Regions from separate parts of the Homo sapiens genome. Here regions 2 and 3 are each linked to region 1. Evidence: promoter capture Hi-C in 16 types of primary human blood cells and fetal thymus (Javierre and others, 2016). All regions are on one chromosome and are shown on one strand. Each heading gives the region's core, a stretch centred on a gene start or on the middle of the fragment in contact. The rest is flanking DNA. Distances are from core to core; before and after follow the strand shown. Region 1 holds the start of TTYH3 (tweety family member 3). Region 2 overlaps CHST12 (carbohydrate sulfotransferase 12). Region 3 overlaps CHST12 (carbohydrate sulfotransferase 12).

The links. The method cuts DNA at HindIII sites, captures the fragments that hold promoters and counts their contacts. A CHiCAGO score of 5 or more calls a contact.
Region 2: a contact is called between a fragment that was not itself captured here and the fragment with the promoter of TTYH3 in region 1, in 1 of 17 cell types (monocytes). The highest score is 5.9, in monocytes.
Region 3: a contact is called between a fragment that was not itself captured here and the fragment with the promoter of TTYH3 in region 1, in 1 of 17 cell types (neutrophils). The highest score is 8.7, in neutrophils.

Annotation. Positions count from the first base shown.
Region 1 is chr7:2,629,203-2,633,717 of GRCh38, reverse strand. It overlaps TTYH3 (tweety family member 3), which reads right to left and starts at 1,732. Exons shown (of 14, transcript NM_025250.3): 1 at 1,440-1,732. The coding sequence starts at 1,562. RefSeq lists enhancers at 222-331, 111-843, 1,576-2,307 and a silencer at 1,382-1,791. The HindIII fragment of the contact is 11,109 bases long and covers 1-4,515 here.
Region 2 is chr7:2,439,774-2,444,074 of GRCh38, reverse strand. CHST12 (carbohydrate sulfotransferase 12) reads right to left here. Exons shown (of 2, transcript NM_018641.5): 2 at 1-4,301. Among named protein-coding and RNA genes, the nearest start is that of GRIFIN, 34 kb to the left of the region's middle. RefSeq lists an enhancer at 949-1,449. The HindIII fragment of the contact is 6,535 bases long and covers 1-4,301 here.
Region 3 is chr7:2,418,149-2,422,583 of GRCh38, reverse strand. All of the region lies in intron 1 of CHST12 (carbohydrate sulfotransferase 12), which reads right to left. Among named protein-coding and RNA genes, the nearest start is that of CHST12, 17 kb to the right of the region's middle. The HindIII fragment of the contact is 7,524 bases long and covers 1-4,435 here.

The DNA of each region.
Region 1 (4,515 bases), core at 483-2,982:
AGAACTTTCCAAAGTGAAGCACACCCTCCTTGCAGCTTCAACAGAGTCCTCCAGGGACAAGTGGCAAAGCCATCAGCATGGAATAAGTTCCAGAAGTTCCTGAATGTGCATTGCCCCCACACTGAACGGTCCCCCAGGGCTGGGCTTCTAGAACGCAGGCGTGAGATTTTATACCAATCCTTCCGCCTCCCTCCTCCCTGCTGTGTCTGGGCGTGCCTGGGCCGATCCCTCGCCCCCTTCCTCATCTGTTAGGAAACGTCATCGGCTCGGCTGGGGGGCCTGGGTGCAAGTGAGCGCGAGGCTGGGAGCAGTGGGCTCCCAGGTGCCCTGCTCCTCCACTTCCGCCTCCCTCCTCTGGATGCGGGAGGCCACAGACAACGCAGTTCTGAAGAGTCCAGGTGCTAGGCTGCCCGCGGAATACCGGATTCCCAAGCCATTTTGATAAGCAAAGCCATCCCCACCCCACCATGGGGCTCTGCCATGATCCGTCCAGAGAGAAACTCCGGGTGACCAGGGACCCTGGTCACGGGGCTTCTGGAATCCGGATCTCTAGGCAGGAAGGAAATGCCCACAGCTTGGTCCCCTGCCCCGCACTCAAATGACAGTAGCTTGGCGATGGGGGTGGTGCTGGGGCCTGGCATGATGCCAGGCTAAGGGCTCCCCTGGGAGAGGGCTGCAAAGGGCCCCCAGCCGCCCCCCAGGTCTGCCTGGGCTCAGCCGCTTCCAGCCTCCCTGCCTGAGGCCCACGGTGCTTCCTGGCCGCCGGGCCTCCCTCCCCCGGGGGCTACAGGCAGCCTGGTCTCCCACGGCCACACACGGCACCCTGTGTACATCCCACAGCCTGACCGCCAAGCAGGGGGTCATTACCGGCCACAGAGGGCTGGCGGCGGCCCAGGCCATTCACCCACTGGAAGCCTGGCAGTGGGATTCCCCAGTCGGGGGTGAGTGGGCGAGGAGTCTCTGCCTGCCTGCACCCAATGTGCTCAGGCACCCGCTCTGATCTCAGAGCCTGGGGGTCATCTGGGGAGGGGTCTCTGCTGGGACACAGCACCAGGCCGCCAACAGTGATGGTGGAGAGGCCCTCCACTGGCCAAGGGGGCTCACGGAGTGGGGAGAGGCAGCTCCATGAAACCCAGGGGCCTTAGTGACACCAGAAGGGAAGGCCAGAATCGGGAGGGGGGCCGTGGACCCTCACTGGGGGTTGGAGGGTATTTAGACCTTTGAGGAGGAGGCCATGACCCTGGAAGAAAGGGTCCTAGGACTCAGAAGGGACCCTCGAGAAGGAAGGAGGCCGGTACCTGCGAGGAGGAGGTGGCCGTGACCCTGGAGGGGGGGATGAGGGGTCTTTAGGCCCTCGGGGATGGGGGCCGTGACCCTGGGAGAGGAGGGGGCCGTGACCTGGGGTCCCTGACCCCGCGACCCCGAGAGGCCCATGTCACCTGCTGGTAGTCGGTGTCCTCGGGCCGGAACTGGCTGCTAGTGGCCTCCCAGCTCAGGTCGAAGTGGGGCAGCCGGTGCAGGAGGCTCACCCACCAGGGCGCCGCGTAGCTGACCCCGGCCATGGCGGGGCCCGGCCGCCTCCGGATGCGCGCGGCCTGCGCGGGGCTCCCTTGCTGGCCCGGGGCGCGGGCTTCAGGGACCCGTCGACCCCCGCCTGGCCGCCCGCATCATCCGCGCGCTCCTGGGCCCGGCCCGGCCCGGCTCGGCCCGGCTCGGCTGCGCTCGGCTCCGCTCGGCCGCCCGCGCCCGCCGCCTCTTTGTTCGCCGCCGCCGCCGCCGCCCCCTCCGCACCCCCGCCCGTCCGCCCGCCGGCCCCGCCCCCGAGCCTCCATTGGCCCGCCTCCCGCCAGCCCAGCCCCCGCGCGCCCCGCCCTCTGTCCCGCCTCTTACCCACCATTGGTCTATCCCCCGCCGATCCCGCCCCACAGCGTGCCCCGCCCACTCGCTCCTGAACCTCTATTGGTCCTTTTACCTGATGGTTTTGCCCCTCCACTCGCATCCCCGCCCATTACCCAATGGCCCCGCCCCTCCACGTGTCCCCGCCCTTCGGCCCCGCCTCTGTACCGTCATTAGTCCGCCGGCAGAAGCTCCGCCTACTTCCTCGCCTTCTTGGAGGGACGCCTGGCCCCTAAGGCGCTGGAAGACCGACCCTCAGCGCTGTAAGACCCGGGCCAGCCAGTCTTTCCACGTGGCCGTGGGGGCTGGAACCCTGGCTGCATATGCAGCTGCGCTTCATTCCATGAATTCGCTCTTCGTTTGGATCTTTGCATGTTTCTTATTTGACTCGAGGGTCCGGCCTGGTGGGCTGGGCTGGTCTTGGCCTCCCCATTGCACACACAACAGCCCACAGCCCGCAGCGCCCAGCAAGGCACCGAGTGGCCTATCTGTACAATGGACATGATCTGGATTCAGGGCCTGGCTGGGGCACCTAGAGCTGTGTGATCTGGGGCAAGTTACTTAACCACTCTGTGCATCGGTGTCCTTGTCTGTAAAAGGGGATGATAAAGCTACGAGTGTTGGCAGGGCGTGGTGGTGGTTCATGCCTGTAATCCCAGCACTTTGGGAGGCCGAGGCAGGCGGATCACCTGAGGTCAGGAGTTCGAGACCAGCCTGGCCAAAATGGTGAAACCCCGTCTCTACTAAAAATACAAAAATTAGCCAGGCGTGGTGGCGGGCGCCTGTAATCCCAGTTACTCTGGAAGCTGAGGGAGGAGAATTGCTTGGACCTGCGAGATGGAGGTTGCGGTGAGTGGAGATTGCGCCACTGCACTCCAACCTGGGCAACAGAGTGAGACTCCATCTCAAAAATAAAAAAAATTTTTTTTAAAAAGGTACGAGTGTTAAGTGGATCCGCAGGTAGATTCAGTCCCCATCCGGCCTTCCCTCTGGGGAAGGTTGAGTCTTTTGTCAAGACCTAAGATGAAGACGGTGCCCTGTTCTGGTGTCCTGGGGCCTAAAAATTCAGGCACCTGCCAGAGAGGGCCCATCATGGGCTTTGGAGCCACACAGCCAAATTTCCTAACAGGGCCTCCCCATGCCTGTGCCTCCTCCTTTGCTAAAGGGGAGATGGGAGCTGCCAGAGCCAGGAGGATGGACATAGTGCGTGCTTGGGCCCAGGTGCACGCCTCCCTCCGCACTCTAGGGCAGTGGGTGCATCCTGGCTCTGCTTCATCACCTGGGGCCTTATTCCTGGACCTCCTGTGTACTGAGAAACAGGTTTCCACACCCGGGCTCCACCATCTGCTGTGCCCGACTTGGCCAGCTCTGTGGGCAGGCAGGCCGTTCCTGGCAGGAAGAGCTCTTTGCAGGCAGGGACGGTTCCGGGCAGTGTCTTCCCAGGAGGCCTGGACTTTGGCTCATTGACTGCCCTGACTCGCCTGTTTTCCTGTGATAGGGCACCGGGCAAGAGGGACTAGCTGAGCTGCGGTTTCCACCCGCTGGATAACTTGGAGACACCACCCAGCTGGGAAATAACAGCCAGGCAGAAGGGGGGAGGTCGCATTCTCCATCCCTAAAGGCCGAAGAGCCAGAAATTTGGGGTGGGGTGGGGATACTGGCTCAGGTTCCTCTCTCTCCAATGCCAAGGATGGTGGGAGCTCCAGGCAGAATGAAGCCCCCCCCAACCCCCTAAGACCAAGGCTACCTACTTGGAGTGGGCTGGTACCTGGCCAGGTGAGTCCTCTTCTTTGGCGCCAGCTGATTGCTCACTGTGAACAGGTGGCTTAGGCAGGACGCCCACTCCTAGCCTGACACTGCTCCAGCATCCAGCCTGTGACCTCATCTCCACAGCCAGGGGATCGCCTGCACGGCCCGTGCCCTGGGCTGACTCTGACCTCAGAGTTCTGTGTCGCATAACTCCAGGGATGAACAGGGCAGTCCCTGGCCAGCTGCAGAAATTGTCCTCATGGCCTGAGATCGTTTCTGGTTCCTGCTGTTAGCAGCAGCTCCCATGGCCACAAACAGACCTCCTGCTTCCCCCCACCACAACTCCAGTGCCCTCCACACCAGCCTGGCAGCCCTGCCAGGGTACACACATGCAGGCAGGGGGTACAGGAGTTCCTTCCCCTGTTTCCAGAAGCCTGGCAAAATTGTACCTTTCCTTTTGATAAAGCCAGAAAGTCTGATGCAGACATGATGTGAGATGATAACTTAGGGTCAGGCACAGTGGCTCACGCCTGTAATCCCCACACTTTGGGAGACCGAGGCAGGGGAGATCGCCTGAGGTCAGGAGTTCGAGACCAGCCTGGGCAAATGGTGAAACCCCGTCTCTACAAAAAAATACAAAAATTAGCCAGGCATGGTGGCACATGCCTGTAATCCCAGCTACTCGGGAGGCTGAGGCAGGAGAATCGCTTGAACCCGGGAGGTGGAGGGTGCAGTGAGCCGAGATTGCGCCATTGCACTCCAGCCTGGGTGACAGAGCGAACTCCATCTCAAAAAAAAAAAAAAAAAGAAAGAAAGAAATGATAACTCAGGTGTAGTGGATTGAATTATGTTCCCCAAAAAGATATGTTC
Region 2 (4,301 bases), core at 939-3,438, 190 kb after region 1:
CTGACCTCGTGATCCGCCCGCCTCGGCCTCCCAAAGTGCTGGGATTACAGGCGTGAGCCACCGCGCCCGGCCTAATTTTTGTATTTTTAATAGAGACGGGGTTTCACCATGTTGGCCAGGCTGGTGTTGAACTTCCGACCTCAGGTGATCCACCCGCCTCGGCCTCCCAAAGTGCTGGGATTACAGCCATGAGCCACCGCACCTGGCCGGTGTCATTTTCTTTAAAAGGCACCATCCATGGTTTGAGAGAGAAGAGATGAGACCACCGGTGGACCCTCCGGAAACCACCCTGGCCTGGAGTTTGAGAACAGTGTCTCCCTCAGCATACCTGACTGTCCGCCAGAGACCCAACAGGAGGGAAGCAGCTCTGTCTTTGTTCCTGTGTTATGTGTGCATTCAAGGAGGCAAACTCGGCTGCAGAGTCCCGACTGTGTGCTACTTTCCCATGCCATCTGTAAGAATTTTAAGTATTTTTGGTAATAATAAGAATTGAAATTCAATTCCTCCAAAAATTAAAGATAAATTACCATATGACCCCACACTCCTACTCCTAGGCATATACTCCAGAGCCGCGGTCCCCAACCTTTTTGGCACCAGGGACTGGTTTCATGAGAGGCAATTTTTCCATGGATGGGGCAGAGGTATATGCTTTTGGGATGAAACTGTTTCACTTCAGGCTGAGCACGGTGGCTCACACCTGTAATCCCAACACTTTGGGAGGCCGAGGCGGGCAGATCACTTGAGGTCAAGAGTGAGACCAGCCTGGCCAACATGGTGAAATCCCGCCTCTACTAAAAATACAAAAATTAGCTGGGCATGGTGGCACACGCCTATAATTCCACCTACTCGGGAAGCTGAGGCACAAGAATGGCTTGAACCCAGAAGGCAGAGGTTGCAGTGAGCTGAGATTGCACCACTGCACTCCAGCCTGGGTGACAGCAAGACTCCACCTCAAAAAATAATAAATAAACAAATAAACAAAAAAATTAGCTGGCCATGGTGGCGGGCACCTGTAATCCCAGCTACTTGGGAGGCTGAGGCAGGAGAACCACTTGAACCCAGGAAGCAGGGGTTGCAGTGAGCCGAGATCATGCCACTGCACTCCAGCCTAGGCGAAAGAGCAAGACTCTGTCTGGAAAAAAAAAACAAAAACCTGTTCCACTTCAGATCATCAGGCATTAGATTGTTGCATGGAGAACCCTGGTATGCAGGGTTCACAGGAGGGTTCCCGCTCCTATGAGAATCTAATGCCGCCGCTGATCTGACGGGAGGCGGGGCTCCGGCGGGAATGCACGCTCACCTGCCGCTCACCTCCTGCTGTGCAGTCCAGTTCCTAAGGGGCCGCAGGCCAGTATTGGTCCATCACCAGGGGGTTGGGGATCCCTGCCCCAAAGAATTAAAAGCAGGGACTCGGCGGGGCGTGGTGTCTCATGCCTGTAATCCCAGCAGTTTGGGAGGCCGAGGTGGGTGGATCACGAGGTCAGGAGATCCAGAGCATCCTGGCTAACATGGTGAAACTCCGTCTCTACTAAAAATACAAAAAATTAGCCAGGCGTGGTGGTGGGCACCTGTAGTCCCAGCTACTCGGGAGGCTGAGGCAGGAGAATGGCCTGAACCTGGGAGGCGGAGCTTGCAGTGAGCTGAGATGGTGCCACCGCACTCCAGCCTGGGAGACAGAGCGAGACTCCGTCTCAAAAGAAAACAGCAGGGACTTGAACAGGTATCTGCACACCCGTGTTCACAGCAGCATTATTCACAAGAGCCGAGAGATGGAAGCAACCCAGGTGTCCATCCCTGGGTGAATGGATAAAATGTGGTCTGTCCATACAACGGGATATCGTTCAACCTTTAAAAGGAAGGTGATCCTGACTACAACATGAATGAACCTTGAAGACATTATACTACATGAAGAAGCCAGACACAAAAGGACAAATATTGTACAAATCCACTTACAGGAGGTCCCTAGTCAAACTCAGAGACAGGAAGTAGAATGGTTGGTGCCAGGGGCTTTGGGGGGGCGGCACAGTGGGGAATGGGGAGCTAGTGTTTAATAGGGACAGAGTTTCAGTTTTGTAAATGGAGAGAATTTTGGAGATGGATGGTGGTAACGGTGGCAGGCAAACTGAATGTGCTTAATGCCACTGAACTGTTCACTTAAAAATGGGGAAGAGGGCACATTTTATGTTGCATGTATCTTACCACAACTTTTAAAAGAACTGAAATTAACACCAGTTAAAACCATTACCACCACCACAATTCACCCAAGAAAATATACTTACAAGGTCAACCTTTTTCTTTTTTTTCTTATGAGAAACCCACTCTTCTAAACAGGATGGCCTTCTAATGATAAAATACAACACCTTTTTTTTTTTTTTTTTTTTTAAGACAAGATCTTGCTCTGTCACCCAGGCTGGAATGCAGTGGTGCAATCATGGCTCACAGCAGCCTCGACCTCCCAGACTCAAGCGATCCTCCCACCTCAGCCTCCCAAGTAGCTGGGACTACAGGTGCATACCACCATGCACGGCTTTTTCTTTTAGCTTTTGGAGAGACAAGTTTCCACTATGTTGCCCAGACTGGTCTCAAACTTCTGGGCTCAAGCAATACTCCTGCCTTGAGCTCCCAAAATGGTGGGATTACAGGCATAAGCTGCCCCCTGCAGCCATATTCTTATCATTACTATTTAAACGAGTGAAGAAAGCATTTTTAAGGTTCCTATTCCAAATTTGCCTAAAAGATGAACTCCAGCCCAGGGGCAGGAGACCTAGGCTGGAAGGCACTGCCGGTCCTAGTCCGCTCCTCCTGGGCCCCTGGGTCTGCGGTGAGCAGGTGGCAGCTCTGTTGTCTCCCTCCCCCATCTAGGCGGGCCTGGACGCCACCCCAATATCGCAGGCCACATAGGGCTCCACGCGCTCCTCCCTCTTGCTCTGCTCTTCCCTCGGGCCCTGTGGGAATTCTCGAGTCAAGCCCAGCCGCCCCTGCTGACCCAGGTCAAGGCTCTCACGGAGCATGGGGCCTGCACGCTTTGAACCTCTTGAAACATTATAAGCAGAACATTGCCCCACAGCCTGAGAGCCACAGCCGTGTCTCTCCTAAGCAAGGATGGTGCTTAGACAAGGAAAAAAGACAGGGCCTGGCTTTTTCATCCTAGGATTTCAAAGTGCATTTAGACACGCTAACTTATGACCACTCACGAGGTGGTAACTTCACACGGCCGGAGAAACGACAGCACAAGAAGTATCGTTGACTCCCGACCCCAAGATAAATCCAGAATGACACAGGATTGTGCAACCTCCAGATCTTTGTTCAAACAGCTTATTCTACCAGATAAACCTGAGCGGCGGCATTCTTCTTGGCAGTTTCTGGAAGTGTGAAGGTGAATTCCTAACTAAGATAGAAGGTGACTACAGGTATAAACCACCACCTCCCAAATCAGCCTGTAGACCCTCCACTGTGGGTACCTCGGGCTGGCCCTACAGGCCCACTCTGTCTTCTCTTCGGTGGCCCACCCCGCTCCTACTCACAACCGAGCCTCATCTGGGGTGCCCAGTTCCCATCATCCCAGGAAAGTCTGGGACCCTCTGCCTTTCAGAGTTCAGGTCAAACACTACCCCAAAGACCTGAGCTAGAATTTTCAAGTCCAAATCTCCAAACACACACACACACACATTCTCTTGCACACAAGTGCAGACTCACACTTGCACGCACACTTGCACATGCACTCGCACACCTGCACACACACACCCCGCCAGCTTCTAGCCAGTACTTCAAACCCCCAAACTATAAGTGCAAAAAACACCCAGATAGGCTGTGTTCGTTTATCACTGTCAAAGTCAACCAACAGATCCTCATCAGACAAGTGTGACGGGACCATTACAGTGAGCAAATGCTCTCCAGATGGCACCATGACAGCCATGGGAGTCATTTCAGGCATGCCTGCGGAATGGTGCTTGGCTCAGATCAGTAGCGCCCACGGACAGACACAGAGAAGCCTTCAAACCAGGTGTCCTTTCTTCATTAGCCTCCCCATCAGAGATGCACTGAGAAATTATTCCTGCTGGGCACAGCAGCCCACGCCTGTAATCCCAGCACTTTGGGAGGCTGAGGCAGAAGGAGCACTCGAGCTCAGGAGTTTGAGACCAGCCTGGGTGACAAAGCAAGACCCCGTATCTACCAAAAAAAAAAATTTTTTTTTGAGACGGAGTCTCGCTCTGTCGCCCAGGCTGGAGTGTAGTGGCGCCAATCTCCGCTCACTGCAAGCTCCGCCTCCCGGGTTCACGCCATTCTCCTGCCTCAGCCTC
Region 3 (4,435 bases), core at 584-3,083, 210 kb after region 1:
AGCCTGGTGACGGAACAAGACTCCATCTAAAAAAAAAGAGGCAGGGCGCAGTGGCTCACGCCTGTAATCCCAGAACCTTGGGAGGCCGAGGCGGGTGGATCACCTGAGGTCAGGAGTTCGAGACCAGCCTGACCAATAACGGAGAAACCCTGTCTCTACTAAAAATACAAAATAAGCCGGGCATGGTGGCACATGCCTGTAATCCCAGCTACTCGGGAGGCTGAGGCAGGAGAATCGCTTGAACCTGGGAGGCGGAGGTTGCAGTGAGCCGAGATGGCGCCACTGCACTCCAGCCTGGGCCACAAGAGGGAAACTCCCTCTCAAAAAAAAAAAAGAAAGAAAAAGAAAGTAGCAAAGGGGAAAAGTTAACATGACAAACAACTTGAGAGGGAAGTTGCCAATTAAGATGAAGACTAACGAGGAGAGTGAAGCTGCAGGGGAGTCAGTCACATCGCCGACATAGGCAGACGCCAGAGGCCAGGGATGCTGCCGCCGTCCACGAATTCTGTACCTAAGAACTAGATAAGGGCGTTACTGAGCCAACCTAAGCACTTCTGCTTATTTTTCAGCCAAGAAGCATTACATATATACAACCAATGCCAGTGACTACATCATTTTATAAAACCTATGACTTTTCATGGATAATTTAATAAGATTTCAGTTTAATTACAAGGAAAATATTTTAGGATTATAACTAAGTATTAATAATATCTTTTAGGGCCAGCTATGGTGGCTCATGCCTGTAATCCCAGCACTTTGGGAGGCTGAGGCGGGAGAACTGCCCAGGAGTTTAAGACCAGCCTGGGCAACATAGCAAGACCCTATCTCTATAAAAAATGTTTAAAAAGGCTGGGCGCAGTAGCTCATGCCTGTAATCCTGGCACTTTGGGAGGCTGAGGTGGGCAGATCACTTGAGCTCAGGAGTTTGAGGACAGCCTGGCCAACATGGCAAAACCCTGTCTCTACTAAAAATAAAAAAATTAGCCTGGCATGGTGGTGTACACTTGTAATCCCAGTTTCTTGAGAGGCTGAGATGGAAGGACCATTTGAACCTGGCAGGTGGAAGTTGCAGTGAGCCAAGATCGCGTCACCGCACTCTAGCCTGGGCAACAGAGCGAGACTCCGTCTCAAAAAAAAAAAAAAAAGTAAAAAAAAAAACCAAACTAAAAAACTAGCCAGGCATGGTAGTGTGTGCCTGTAGTCTCAGCTACTTAGGAGGCTGAGGTGAGAGGATTGCTTGAGCCCAAGAGTTTGAGGCTGCAGTGAGCTATGATGTTGCCACTGCATCCCAGCCTGGGCAACATACCAAGACCCTTCTCTACAAAAAAAATGTAAAAAAAAAAAAAAAAAAAAAAAGAATTAGCAGGACATGGTGGTGTGCACTTACAGTCCCAGCTACTCAGGAGGCTGAGGCAAGAGGATCGCTTGAGCCCAGGAGATGGAGGTTGCAGTGAGCTGTGATGGCACCACTGCACTCCAGCCTGGGGAACAGAGTGAGACTCTGTCTCAAAAAAAAAAATTAACACAGAATTATCATATAAAATTACCATATGAGGGGCCAGGTGCAGTGACTCACGCCTGTAATCCCAGCTACTCAAGGAGGCTGAGGCAGAATTGCTTGAACCCAGGAGGCAGAGGTTGCAGTGAGCTGAGATTGTACCACTGTATTCCAGACTTGGTGACACAGTGAGACTCCGTCTTAAAAAATAATAATAAAATAAAATTGCCATATGATACAGCAATTCCACTTCTGTGTATACACCCAAAATAACTGAAAGCAAGGTTGTTGTTCTTTTCCTGAGACAGGGTCTCACTGTGTTGTCCAGGCTGGGGTGCAGTGGTGCCATCAAACCTCACTGCAGCCTTGAACTCCTGGGCTCAAGCAGCCTCCTGAGTAGCTGAGACTATAGGTGGTTGCCACCATGCCCAGCTAATTTTTTGTAGAGATGGCATCTTGCTATGTTGTCAGGGTGGTCTTGAATTCCTGGCCTCAAGTGATCCTTCCACCTTGGCCCCCCAAAGTGCTGGGATGACAGGCATGAGCCACTGCACTCAACTTAGAGCAGGGTCTTGAAGAGATGCTTGCACACCCATGTCCACACTGATGTCAGCATCATTCACAATAGCCAAAAGGTGGAAGGAACCCAAGTGTTCGCGACAGATGAACAGACAAGCAAACTGTGGTCAACCCATGTAGTAGAATATTACTCAGCCTTCAAAAGAAAGGAAATTCTGACACATGCTACAACATGGATGAACCCTGAAGACATTATGCTCAGTGAAATAAGCCAGAAACAAAAGGACAAATACTTGGCCGGTGTGGCGGCTCACACCTGTAATCCCAGCACTTTGGGAAGCCGAGGCGGGCAGATCACGAGGTCAGGAGATCAAGACCATCCTGGCTAACACGGTGAAACCCCGTCTCTACTAAAAATACAAAAAATTAGCCGGGCATGCTGACGGGCGCCTGTAGTCTCAGCTACTCTGGAGGCTGAGGCAGGAGAATGGCATGAACCCGGGAGGCAGAGCTTACAGTGAGGTGAGATCGTGCCACTGCACTCCAGCCTGGGCAACAGAGCGAGACTCCATCTCAAAAAAAAAAAAAAAAAAAAAAAGACAAATATTTCAAGATTCTACTTGTATGAGGTTCCCAGGGCAGTTAAATTCCTAGAGACAGAAAGTAGAATGGTGGTTGTGGGGGCAGGGGAGGGGGATGGGAGTTTGTGTTCAATGGGGACAGAGCTTTAGTTTTACAAGATGAACATAGTTCTGGGGCTGGAGGGTGGTGATTGCTGCAGAGTGATGTGAACGTGCTTAACACCACCAAACTGCATGCTTAAAAATGGTTACAATGGTAATTTTTTTTTTTTTTTTTTGAGACGGAGTTTTGCTCTTGTTGCCTAGGCTTGAGTGCAGTTGCACAATCTCAGCTCACTGCAACCTCTGCTTCCCGGGTTCAAGCGATTCTCCTGCCTCAGCCTCCTAAGTAGCTGGGATTACAGGCTCCCACCACCATGCCTGGCTAATTTTTGTATTTTTAGTAGAGACGGGGCTTCACCATGTTGGCCAGGCTGGTCTCGGACTCCTGACCTCAGGGAATCCACCTGCCTTGGCCTCTCAAAGTGCTGGGATTACAGGCGTAAGCCACTATGCCCAGCCATTTTTTTTTTTTTTTTTTTTTTGGAGACAGGGTTCCACTCTATCATTCAGACTTGAGTGCAGTGGCGTGATCTTGGCTCACTGCAACCTCCCCACTCAAGTGATCCTCCCACCTCAGCCTCCTGAGTAGCTGGGTTACAGGTGTGCACCACCACGCCTGGCTAATTTTTGTATTTTTAGTAGAGATGGGGTTTCACCATGTTGACCAGGATGGTCTTGAACTCCTGGGCTCAAGTGATCTACCTGCCTCGGCCTCCCAAAGTGATGGGAATACAGGCATGAGCCACCACGCCCAGCCAAGTTTTAATTTTAAAAGGCGGTTTGGACAGCCAGACATGGTGGTTCATGCCTGTGATCCCAGCAATTTGGGAAGCCAAGGCAGGGGGATTGCTTGAGCCAAGGGGTTCAAGACCAGCCTGGTCCACACAGTGAGACCTCATGTCTACAAATAATTTTTAAAATTAGCTGGGCATGATGGCACACACCTGTGGTCCCAGTTACTCTGGAGGCTGAAGTGGGAAAATGGCTTGAACCCAGGAGGTCAAGGCTGCAGTAAGCTATGATTGTGCCGTTGTACTCCAGCCTGGGTGACAGGGTGAGACCACATCCCAAAAAACAAAACAACAACAACAGCAACAGAAACAACAGCTTGGACATACAAGAATGTCTGGCCCAGTGACTGACACAGCTCCGGCCTGAAGCCCACGTGACTTTTGCTACCTTCTGGGCAGGAGAGAAGCATTCAGGGAAGGGTCCGATAGAACCGCTGGGCTGAGCACTGCGGTCATGATCCCACCTGCTTCCAAAACACATCATGGGCAACACTGAAGCCATAAAGTAATTTTTCATTAAAAAGAAATAGGACATGATTTCCAAATGCAAATCTCCCAGTGTTTCAACAAAAAGCCCCCTGTGATTTGAAGCAGAGCACGCAGAGGCATCTCAGATGAACAGACGTATAACCCGCCTGCGGCACACCAACCGTGGGCTGCTGCCTCCAGCAAGGGAACCCACAGAGCAAAGTTTCACCTAGAAGCATCATCCGCCAGGAAACTGTAGCGGTGGAGGTGCTTTTCCACGGCGGCTGTGTCAGATGCCCTCATAAATGGCACTGAAAATTATTAGGTTAGGTTTAAACGCAAACACTGTGGTTAGGCTGACAGAGTTGTGTCTTAGCTCCGGGTGGGGCTGTTAAATATTTCTTTGCTCACACACAACATGCAGGGCATGAAGCCAGGGGCAGACTCTGCAGCCCCAGGGAGCAAGTCCATGCCGG